4 separate regions of the Homo sapiens genome follow, and regions 1, 3 and 4 are each linked to region 2. Evidence: promoter capture Hi-C in 16 types of primary human blood cells and fetal thymus (Javierre and others, 2016). All regions are on one chromosome and are shown on one strand. Each heading gives the region's core, a stretch centred on a gene start or on the middle of the fragment in contact. The rest is flanking DNA. Distances are from core to core; before and after follow the strand shown.

The links. Contacts are between HindIII fragments. The CHiCAGO score rates a contact against its expected background, and 5 or more counts as called.
Region 1: a fragment that was not itself captured here is called in contact with the fragment with the promoter of PHACTR4 in region 2 in 7 of 17 cell types (total CD4 T cells, naive CD8 T cells, activated CD4 T cells and 4 more); the score reaches 7.3 in total CD4 T cells.
Region 3: a contact is called between a fragment that was not itself captured here and the fragment with the promoter of PHACTR4 in region 2, in 1 of 17 cell types (M1 macrophages). The highest score is 5.8, in M1 macrophages.
Region 4: a contact is called between a fragment that was not itself captured here and the fragment with the promoter of PHACTR4 in region 2, in 1 of 17 cell types (M1 macrophages). The highest score is 6.5, in M1 macrophages.

Annotation. Positions count from the first base shown.
Region 1 is chr1:28,866,348-28,869,299 of GRCh38, reverse strand. OPRD1 (opioid receptor delta 1) reads right to left here. Exons shown (of 3, transcript NM_000911.4): 3 at 1-2,952. Among named protein-coding and RNA genes, the nearest start is that of EPB41, 47 kb to the left of the region's middle. The HindIII fragment of the contact is 6,215 bases long and covers 1-2,952 here.
Region 2 is chr1:28,368,156-28,371,092 of GRCh38, reverse strand. It overlaps PHACTR4 (phosphatase and actin regulator 4), which reads right to left and starts at 1,353. Exons shown (of 14, transcript NM_001048183.3): 1 at 1,268-1,353. RefSeq lists a silencer at 980-1,199 and enhancers at 1,281-1,575, 1,226-2,181. The HindIII fragment of the contact is 7,867 bases long and covers 1-2,937 here.
Region 3 is chr1:28,065,407-28,068,303 of GRCh38, reverse strand. The region is part of intron 1 of EYA3 (EYA transcriptional coactivator and phosphatase 3); the gene reads left to right. Among named protein-coding and RNA genes, the nearest start is that of EYA3, 22 kb to the left of the region's middle. The HindIII fragment of the contact is 715 bases long and covers 977-1,691 here.
Region 4 is chr1:28,027,534-28,030,371 of GRCh38, reverse strand. EYA3 (EYA transcriptional coactivator and phosphatase 3) reads left to right here. Exons shown (of 18, transcript NM_001990.4): 7 at 2,446-2,583. Among named protein-coding and RNA genes, the nearest start is that of EYA3, 60 kb to the left of the region's middle. The HindIII fragment of the contact is 1,340 bases long and covers 894-2,233 here.

The DNA of each region.
Region 1 (2,952 bases), core at 1-2,500, 500 kb before region 2:
GCTGCCTGCAGCCTGAACCACACAGCCATCTGTCACCCAACTCTCAATATCTGCAAGCTCAGCGTGGGGCGGCCAGGTCCTGATTTGCTCCCGTCACTCCTCCCGGCTCCCAGAAATAAAGGAATAAATACATGATGAAAGAGAGGCATCTGTATGTGTTTTGTGTGTGAGTGCAGGGGCCAGGATCTGGGTGCCAGGGATGGGGGGTGGTCACTTCCTAGGGGCTTTGGGGCCGCTGGGGCCGGCTTCAGTCTGGATCTGCAGCAGGTGTTAGTGGGAGCTGGCAGCCAGTAGTCATGCCCTAGGTGAGGGATCTGCGGCTGACACAAAGAGAGGGCTGGCCTTTGGACAGAGACCCAGCAGGTGCCCAGCCTGGACTGTTGTTCTTCCAAGTCCTCTCAGGATGCTAGTGGGCCCTCTCCAACTTGAGGAGCATTTCTTTTTAATTTTTTTTTTTTTTCAGACAGAGTCTCGCTCTGTCGCCCAGGCTGGAGTACAGTGGCAAGATCTTGGCTCACTGTAACCTCTGCTTCCTGGGTTCAGGCGATTCTCCCGCCTCAGCCTCCTGAGTAGCTGGGATTACAGGTGCACGCCACCACGCCTGGCTAATTTTTGTGTTTTTAGTACAGACAGGGTTTCACCATGTTGGTCAGGCTGGTGTTGAACTCCTGACCTCATGATCCACCCGCCTTGGCCTCCCAAAGTGCTAGGATTACAGGCGTGAGCCACTGCACCCAGCCCTTGAGGAGCATTTCTAATTCCAAGCCCAGCAAGCCTCCTTAGAGCAGCTGCCTCTGGCACACGTGTAATTATCAGAGAATAAGCCTGTATCGAGGCCCCACTATGTGCCAGGCACTTTGGTGGCACTTTGCTTACCATATCTCTAGCTTTCAGAGAGTGCTCTCGTGGAGGTGAAGTGACTTGCCTAAGATCACACTGCTAGCACGTGGCCAAGAATTCGGCAAAGCTAGGACTCTTATTAAGTGAGGCTGATGATCGTATTAGAGATGGACCAATTCCCACATCTCAACTCTAGAAGGAAACTGAAGCTCAGAGAAGGCAAATCCCTTGTCTAGGTCACACAGCCAGTTAGCTTGAGAGCTGGGATTTGATCCAGGCTTGGGGGCTGCCTGGGCCATGTAAAAAACTAAATTGGAGAGCTCCCATCACCCTCCTGCCCTCCCTACTCGCATCCTCTCTTATGACACTTGACATTATCCATCACTCCCTCCTCCTGGGAACGCCCTCCTCCTCCAGTTTCCATGGTAGCACATTCTCTCCATCCTCCTCCTGCTTCTCTGGCAGCTTCTCACTCTCCATGGTGGCTCCTGGGCCAGGAAGCAAGGGGATCCCCAAGCTGGATCTCCAGTCTCTTCTCTCTCTCCATCACTAGCCCCGACAGCTCACCTACTCTTCCCTGTAGGTCTCTAGCTCTGACCCTGAACCCTGGCTCCACTTGTAAGCAGTGACTGCCACTTACCATGTACTTAGAGTTTACTTACGTTCTGGGCCTTATCCCTATACATACATTAAATCCTCACAACCACCCGTGAAGGAAGTCTACTCTACAGATGAGGAAACTGAGGCTCAGAGAGGGAAAACCAAGATCTGATTCCAGGCTTAACCACTACTTCTACTGCATCAAGACGAGGTATGAGAGCTGGGCACAGTGGCTCACACCTGTAAACCCAGTACTTTGGGAGGCCAAGGCAGGAGAATTGCTTGAGGACAGAAGTTCAAGACCAGTCTGGGCAACACAGAGACACTCTGGTCTCTATTGAAAAAAAAAAAAATTGGCCGGGCTTGGTGGCTCACGCCTGTAATCCCAGCACTTTGGGAAGCTGAGGCGGGCAGATCCCCTGAGGTCAGGAGTTCGAGACCAGTTTGGCCAAATGGTGAAACCCCGTCTCTACTAAAAATAAAAATATTAGCTGGGTTATGGTGGTGCACACCTGTAATCCCAGCTACTCAGGAGGCTGAGGCGGGAGGATGACTTGAACCCAGGAGGCGGAGGTTGCAATGAGCCGAGATGGTGCCACTGCACTCCAGCCTATGCGACAGAGGGAGACCCTGTCTCAGAAAAAAAAAAACCCAAACAAAATAAATGAATAAAAATAAAAATAAAATTGCTGGGCATGGTGTCACACACCCGTCGTCCCAGATTCTCAGGAGGCTGAGGTGGGAAGATCACTTGAGCCCAGGAGTTTGAGACTGCAGTGAGCTATGACTGCACCACTGCACTTGCACTCCAGACTGGGCAACAGAGCAAGACACTGGCTGAAAAAAAAAAAAAAAAGATGATGAAGAAGAAGAGATCTGAAACAGTAGGACATTTTGAAATCAGGGGCAAAAACTTCCCTCCCTCCTCCTGGAGGGAGATAAATGGAAATTTTGGGGGAAACAGACCTACTCTGCAGTTTTGAGAACCCTGTGACGATCTAGAATTACACTGTCAATTTAGAGCTTTAAAATGCACCATGCACAGTACATTCTGAAACGTGAAGATTTGGAGAGCTTCAGGAGGAACAAAAGTTCATGGAAAATTGCTCGTTTCCTTTAGATTTTTCCATTTGGTTTTAGGTCTTCAAAACCTCATTCTGGGGTTCCAGCTTCTAAGGCCTTTCTACTTCACTGATGCCTGGAATTAACTGGAAACATGGACCCTGGAATTCCAGGGACCCAAGTTCTGCCACTACGAACAGGCCCTGTGACTTAGGAGCAAGTAGCCTGACCTCTCTCAGCCTCAGCTCTCTTTGTCCTCAATGGGGATAACACTACTTCCTCACCAGGCTGTCCTGAGGATCAGGTGGGCTGATGCACACAAGACACCTGGCAGAGAGCCTGGCACACAGAAGAGCTTAGTTAAGCCCCATGCTCCAGCTGCACCCAACTTGTTGGGTTTGCCAAGCATTTAAACATCCCCATGCCTCCGCACACGCTATTTCCTCTTTT
Region 2 (2,937 bases), core at 104-2,603:
ATTCTAGCAATGCAGTCTTCCAACAGGAGGACATACACAGTTACCATTATCTAGCCAAATTTGATCGAATCCACAATCCACGCAGTTCCGCGGTTTCCGGTAAGAATCTACCACACCTCATCCCCTAAACTGGCTTCATTTCTAAACGGGCTTCATTCCTTTTTTTTTTAAGATGGGGTCTTGCTGTGTTGCCCAGGCTGGTCGCGAACTTCTGGCCTCAAGCGATTCTCCTGCCTCAGCCTCCAGAATAGTTGGCATTACAGGCGCGCGCCACCACGCCCGAAATTCATTTCTTTAATTTGGCGAAAAAGTAAGTGACTTCTAGAAGCCACTGGGTTTCTGGTTCCTCTATAAAGCAAATTCTTCCACTGAAGGACTTTTTCCTTCCACTGTTTGTTTTAAAAAGAACAAGAAAAGGAAGAGGTTGGAAGGAGCGAGGAGCTGAGTGTCCGAATGAAGCACTGGAGGGTTTTTTTTTTTTGCAAGCAATCAGTGATGCCCTGTAAGTCACTCTCCTCCGAGATTTGGGAGGTGCGTGAACTGCCATTCTACCATTCACCACTGGTTCTTTGGTCCACCGATCACAGATGTGAGCTGCACAGACATCGCAGCAAATTCGATGCCTTCCCGGTTTCCCGGAGCCGGGGTGTAGAGGGTGGGAGAGAGGGGTCGCTTCTTTTCCTTAATCTCATCTCTCCACCAAGAAAAACGTCGGGAGTTTCGTGCCCTGAAGCCGCCCAGGCTGATGTTTGAAAGTTAAATAATAACCTCCAGGTTTTTACAGAAACTCCGCCTGGCTCCGAAGCCCCCGTTCTGCCCAGCAGGGGTGCAGAGGTCTGAGGCAGGACGGTTTTGAAAAATGTACTTTGACCCGATCCGGTTACTGTAACCGGATCCCCAGGGAGCAGTCCCTGTTGGGGACCGGGGGAACAGGCTCCCCCGTGGCGGAGACTCCATGCACGGACACAAAGGGGGAGCAACGCAGCCCAGACAAAAGGGCCCAGCCAAGTCTCGGGGGGCGGAGAGGGCGAGCCTGCGCGGGCCCTGCCTCAGGCGGAGAAGCCCGGGTTGGACCGTTGTGGGAGGGCCGAGGAGGGAGGCGGCGGCCCCGCCCCGCCCTGGCCCGAAGCGACGGCGACCCGGGCCGTTACCTTCTGCCCGGACCGGGACCCTCTCGCAGAGCCAAGAAAGGGGCCGCAGCCTGAGAGGAGGCCGCAGCCTGATACTGAGCGCGTCCTGCTCACTTTCCCTTGCTCGCTGAACTTACCCAGATCTCCGCCGCCGCCTCCTCAGCCTCCACAGCAGCCTCTCCCGGAAATCCTACCTGGCCCGTTGGCCGCCAGGCAGCAGCCGGAGCCCTTGGCCCCCGGGGAGGGGGAAAAAGGGAGCCGGCTGGACAGTGTAGGGTAGGACGTGCCGCCGCGGAGGCTTACGGGACTTGTAGTCCCCAGCAGGGGCCGGTTGCCCGGCAAGCTGAACAAAATGGCGGGAAGCGTGCGTCCTTTCTCTCCGGGCGGTCGTCCTCCTTACGACCTCTCTGGGCATGCGCTGGCCGCTCTGCGCACCTTGTGTGTAAAAGAACTTGGGCACCTTTCCTGGTACTATGGGAGGCAAAGGTCTTTGGGCTTGGGAGGACAGGGTTCAATACTGGGCTCCAGGCAGTACCCAAAAAGGGAACTGATACAAGAGTGTTGTTTGAGAAAACTGTATCCCTGACTGGCCAAATTTCAATCATAACCTCCCCAAAGGAAAAACTATTTATTGAGGACCAATTTGAAGTGCAAAAAACGTACAAGCAAGTTATCTACCCTCAGTGTTGTGCGTAAGAAACCCAGGAATCATTCTGGACACTTCCCTCAAGCCATTAAGTCCAGTCATTCTACATCCCCAGTATTTTAATTCATTTCGATATCCTTCACTACTATCACCTAGTGAAAGCCACCATCACTTCTCTCCAAGTCTCAGTAGTTTCAGGCCCTAGGCTATCACCCTCCGAAAACCTTCCTTGCTGCTGCCAGAGGACCCTTCTAAATGCAAACCCATTGTATCACACAACCTAAATTAGACCTACATGTAAAACTTGAAGCTACGGCACATCTAGAGGACATTCCAGGAGAAAAATCGATGTGACTTTTCAAATACACTATCCATAAAATTAAAAAAATTGGCCAGGCGCGGTGGCGCATGCCTGTAATCCCAGCTACTCAGGAGGCTGAGGCAGGAGAATCGCTTGAACCCAGGAGGCGGAGGTTGCAGTGAGCCGAGATCTTGCCATTGCAGTCCAGCCTGGGCGACAGAGCAAGACTCCGTCGCAAAACAAACAAACAAACAAACAAACAAATTATCCGGGGCCTAGTGCCAAGCTCCTGTAGTCCCAGCTACGTGGGAGGCTGAGGTGAGATGATCACTTGAGCCTGGGGGGTCGAGATCGCACCAGTGCACTCCAGCCTGGGCAGCAGAGCAAGACCCTGTCTCAATAGAAAAAGAAAAAAGAAGAAAAAAAAATTGGCCGGGTGCAGTGGCTCACACCTCTCATCCCAGCACTTTGGGAGGCTAAGGCGGGAGGATCCCTTGAGCCCTGGAGTTTGAGACCAGCCTGCCAGCCTGGGCAACAGAGTGAGGCCCCATCTCTACAAAAACAATTTTAAAAATTAGCTGGGCATGATGGAACGTGCCTGTAGTCCCAGGTACTCAGGAGGCTGAAATAGGAGGATTATTTGAGCTGGGGAGGTCCAGGCTGCAATGAGCTGTGATGGTGTCGCTACACTCCAGCCTGGACGACAGAGGGAGACCTTGTCTCAAAAAAATATTTAAAATATATTTATTGGCCTGGCACGGTGGCTCACGCCTGTAATCCCAGCACTTTGTGAGGTTGAGGCTGGTAGATCACCTGAGGTCAGGAGTTCGAGACCAGCCTCTCCAAAATGGTGAAACCAC
Region 3 (2,897 bases), core at 85-2,584, 300 kb after region 2:
CTGGAGTGCGGTGGTGCGATCTTGGCTCACTGCAATCTCCACCTCCCGGGTTCAAGCGATTCTCCTGCCTCAGCCTCCCAAGTAGCTGGGATTACAGGTGCCTACCACCACGCTAATTTTTTTTATTTTTAGTAGAGACGGAGTTTCACCATGTAGGCCAGGCTGGTCTCGAACTCCTGACCTCAGGTGATCCACCTGCCTCAGCCTCCCAAAGTGCTGGGATTACAGGCATAAAGGAATGTAATTTTAAAAGGGAGGGTTTTATGCTCAATTCCACATAAAGAGGACAAAAAACTTCAGACAAGGGAGTTCAGAGTTTTGGATTCCACCACTGTTTCTGCTGCTTACAGGTTCATGAGGCAGTGCCTTCTCTTTTGTTTAATTTCCTCAACTTTAAAATAAGGATTACATTTAATGATCTGTGATACTCTATCCTTTGTAGCATCTTTTGTTATATATTTTCTTGCATTTCCAAGAGAGAATCGTGTCTGTCCAATAGAGTGAAACCAAATGTGAAGTCTCTTCCAATAGCAAATTCTTTAACTATTGGAAGTTCGTTGCTTTTGCTTAGAGCTGTAAAATGAACCAACCCTGAGTTTGTGTACAGTGTCTAAATAACTTCTTAGGAAAGAGATGACACAGCCAGAAAATCAAATGAATCTTTCTGCCTATACTGTTGTCACAAACAGGGTAAGATTTTTTAGGTAAGGCAAGATCACTGTGATTTGAAATGCTTTTCCCTCAAAACTGAAATTTTTTTTCTAATGGAAAAAGTTGGGGGCAAGAATGAAGAATTTGTGTCTAATTTTAGCTTAATGTCTTGAACATTTTTTATATAAGCATTTAAAAATATGTATTTAAACATTTTACTATACTTTTAAATGTAAGCTTTGTATCTGCTTTTGATTCTTATCAAATTATATGTAAGCTATTATTAAACTAACATAAAAACATGTATTCACCTTTTAAATAAGCTTGTATTGAAATAGTTTACAGTTACAGTGTAGTTAAACTTATTGTTCACATGTTGTTTGTTTCTCATTTTTCGTTTCTGTAGACAACAAACTTATACTATTTTTAAAAGTAGAGTTTGCTTCTTTCCCCCCTGTATGTAATTCTTGGGTGAGCACCTAAGAAAAATTATTCAGATTAGGCTGTGGCCAATCTTATGACCTCTTTTATACTTTATCCAGGAACAGTCTGAAGACACATATGATTTTACAGCTGTGCCTGACTGAATATGTCTTTATCTTCTCATAACCCAGATAACACTTGGTTTTATTGTTTAGATTTTTTTTGGTAGCTTAATATGTATGAAGTCGTATCTTAAGAATATTGCAATTTATATTTCTCCAATTAGTAGTGAGACAGTCTTTTTTCTCAAGTGCCGATTGAATCTCTGTGGTTTAAACTGCCTGTTTTTATCCTTTGACAGGTTTATGAGTTAGTCATTGTTTGCTCCCTAATAATAGATGATCGGGAAATGTTGAATTGGTTTGGTTTATATTATAAACATTGTTTTATTTATCATAATTCTTGCAGATATTGCCTGAATTTATAATATTTTAATCTTAGATTTGTTTTTTTCATTGCATGAAAGTTTATTTTACATAATTGGATTTGTCAAATTCTTGTTTATGCTTTCTTTGAATTGACCATAAATTCATCTCTTTTCCATAGTGAGATAAGCTTACTGTTCTGTTTTCTCCAAAGTTTTTTGAATGTTTAGTTTTTTAATATATTTATAATTACTTACAGCATATGTTGATGTGGATATTTTTTGCATGTTGGTATTCAGTTTTTCTGACAATGTTTTCTAAATACTGATTTTTTCTCCATTTATTTCATATTTTAAATACTTTATAGATTTGATCTTTTTTTGGCATTTCTAATCTCTTAGGGTTTTTTTTGTATTTTTTATTGTAAAATATACGTAAGATAAAATTAACTGTTTTAACCATTTTTAAGTAAGGTAGTACCCCCACCATCTGTAGTTTTGCTTTTGGCGGTTTTAGTTACCTTCTATCAACCTTGGTCTGAAAATATTAAATGGAAAATTTCACAGGCAAATAATTCATCAGTTTAAAATTGTGCACTGATCTGAGTAGTGTGATGAAGTCTCTCTCCATTTTGCTCTTTCCTGCCTGGGTCATGAATCATCCCTTTATCCAACATATTCATGTTGTAGACACTTCCCGCCTGTTACTCACTTAGGAGCCGTCTTGGTTATCAGATCATTTGTTGAGGTATCTGCAGTACTTGTGTGTTCGAGTAACTCTTTTTTGTTTTTTTTTTTTGAGACAGAGTTTCACTCTTGCCCAGGCTGGAGTGCAATGGCGTGATCTCAGCTCACTGCAACCTCCGCCTCCCGGGTCCTGGTTCAAGCAGTTCTCCTGCCTCAGCCTCTTGAGTATCTGGGATTACAGGCATGCGCCACCATGCCCAGCTAATTTTTGTATTTTTAGTAGAGATGGGGTTTCACCATGTTCGCCAGGCTGGCCTTGAACTCCTGACCTCATGATCCGCCCGCCTCGGCCTCCCAGAGTGCTGGGATTACAGGCATGAGCCACTGCACCCAGCCTGAGTAACTCTTATTTTACTTAATGGCCCTGAAGAGCAAGAGTAGTGTTGCTGGCAATACAGATACACCAAAGAGAAGTGCATTAAGTGAAAAGGTAAAAGTTCTCCACTAAATAAGGAAAGAAAAAAAATCATATGCTGAGATTGTTAAGATCTACGGTAGGGCTGGGTGTTGTGGCTCACACCTGTAATCCCAGCACTTTGGGAGGCCGAGGCGGGCGGATCATGATCCAGACTATCCTGGTCAACATGCTGAAACCCCGTCTCTACTAAAAATACAAAAATTAGCTGGGCGTGGTGGCACGCATCTGTAGTCC
Region 4 (2,838 bases), core at 314-2,813, 340 kb after region 2:
GCAGTGAGCTATGATTGCACCACTGCCCTCCAGCCTGGGCAACAGAGCAAGACCTTGTCTCAAAAAAATTAAGAAGTGATTATCATATCCCACTGTTGGTCTTTTTAAGACTTTCATATTTCTCTTTACTATTCCTAAATGTACTTATCAACAAATTGGACAAATCTGAGTTGCACTGAAGTATCTCAGTGCCCTGGTGAAGCAGAGGTTCTCATTCTCAAAGTATTGTATTTTTAATTGCATATATGTGTTCATTGGCTATAAATTCAATCACTCCTAGTTTATCAGAGTAGGAGCAAATAAATGAGATGAGTTAATGTTGAGTTTGAAGTCATGGCTAACCTTAGTATTGATATCATACATGGAATGTGTTTGGTTGATGAACCTTCTTAGACCTAATTATCAGCTTCAACTACACTAACCCAGTAACCATAGCTATTCAGAACACAGTGAACAACCAGGCATTAAGATTTTTGGGGCCTGGCATGGTGGCTTGTGCCTGTAATCCCAACACTTTGGGAGGCTGAGGTGGGTGGAACTCCTGAGGTCAGGAGTTCGAGACCAGCCTGACCAACATAGTGAAACCCCATCTTTACTAAAAATACAAAATTAGCCAGGCATGGTGGTACATACCTGTAATCCCAGCTACTAGGGAGGCTGAGGCAGGAGAGTCGCTTGAACCCGGGAGGAGGAGATTGCAATGAGCTGAGATCATCGTGCCACTGCACTCTAGCCTGGGCAACAAGAGCGAAACTCCATCTCAAAAAAAAAAAAAAAAGGATTTTCTTTTTAAAAGTAGGCTTTTGTGTAGCCAAAATTATCACCAAAACCATGCACTTAAGAGTGTTTCACTCATAAAGAATATCCTTGGACTCTCATGCAGATGCAAAGCTTTGTTTATGGTTGCCTAGTTTATTGCAAATTAAAAGGCAGATACTGCTAAGGAAGTCAAGAAGTGACAGACCACAGAGGAAAAACAGTGAAATTAGAACCTAAAAATCAGAACTATAATTAAGTTATATTTAGTACTAAACAATTGTCTTTACACATCACAGTAGCCTCTGCGGTATCTCTGTAATATATGTAGCACAGCACAGTTTTTATTTTTGAAACAGTAACTGAGAAAATCTAAAGGTATGTGTGCTATTTCCTCCTTGCTCAGAAGGCAGGAAGGGATATAAATATATTTTAGAAAGATTGTTACTCAGGAGCATTATGATAAAAAGAAAATAAAAATGAACAGCTATGATGTTTGTCAGTATGAGATAGATTTATATGTTCTGACTTGGAAAGATGAATCTTAGAGGTATTATGTGGAAAAGCAAATTATGTACACTATGTATAACACAGTCCTTGGCTGGCAGTGGCTCATGCCTGTAATCCCAACACTTTAAAAAGCCAAGGTGGAGGATTGCTTGAGGCCAGGAGTTCAAGACTGGCCTGGGCGACATAGCAAGACCCCACCTCTACAAAAAATTAGTCAAGTATGGTGGCACACACCCATAGTCTCAGCTACTCCTGTAGCTGAGGCATGAGGATTATTTGAGCCTAGGTGACAGAGGAAGACCCTGTCTCTTAACAACAACAACAACAACAAAAAATCACAATCCCATTTTTGTTAAAAAGAAGATTAGTGAATACATAGAAGAAATCTGGACTGAGTGTAGTGGCTCATGCCTATAATCCCAGCACTAAAGGAGGCTGGGGCAAAAGTATCGCTTGAGGCCTGGAGTTCAAGACCAGCCTGGGCAACAAAGCAAAACCCTATCTTATTTAAAAAAAAAAAAAAGAAGAAGAAGAAATCATCTGGGTGACTCTTCTGCAAACTGTTAATAGTGGTTAAGTCTGGATGATGGGATTATATATGACTGTATTTTTTTTCTAAATTATGTATTTCTGTAATGTTTTTAATTTATAAAAATAAGCAGGTATGTCTTTCCTAATCGGAAGAAACAAAAGTAACAAAATAACCAGCTTAAGAAGGCAGAGAAGTATTTAATATATTTTAGAAAAATTTGGTCCTTGTTTAATGGGTAAGTGAATTTTAAACTTATATGGAATGTCTCCTACCTTGACAGTTTGGATAAATTATTTATCACTGTACATGAACATCAGGCACTCTTTATAACAGATACTCCAGTTGGGTGTCAATAACTCTTTTTTTCTGAATCCTGGTCAATTTCCCCCAGTCATTGAAATGAATTTATATACATATTGGGATTTGTGGCAAGCTTTTTGTTTCTTTAGCCTCATCCCCTAATTCTTTGAAAGTGTTATTTGCTTGTGATATATTACAAGTGGGAGATTCAATAATTTTCTCTTACAAGCAAATTTATTTTTGTTTTAAGATTTAGATTTTAAACCTACTGGCTGATATTTGAAAGCATAACCATGCTCCTCAGTCCCAGTGTATTGTTTGTAATTGGTCCAATTTATCTGATTCAGGTGCATTGTGGCCAGGTATGAAACCTGAAAGTGGTTTAATTCAGACTCCATCTCCAAGTCAACACAGTGTTCTTACCTGCACTACAGGGTTAACCACAAGCCAGCCAAGCCCAGCACATTATTCTTATCCCATTCAAGGTAAATAGGCATGGTTGTGTGTGTGTTTTAAAATTATTATTATTGTTTCTTGTTTTTAATCTACCTGTATCTCCAAACAAACAAATTGGATAATACAGGAGCTCTGTCTTCTAAAGTAGAAAGGGGGTGATACTTGGATTTGTGCATGCTTTTTGTGTTAGGCAAACCACAGCTTAGGAGTGTGGTTTATAAGTAGTTTAGCCTTTGAATGTGAGCTGCTTAATAGAATTGAAGCCTTCCCTTTTGCATGTTGGT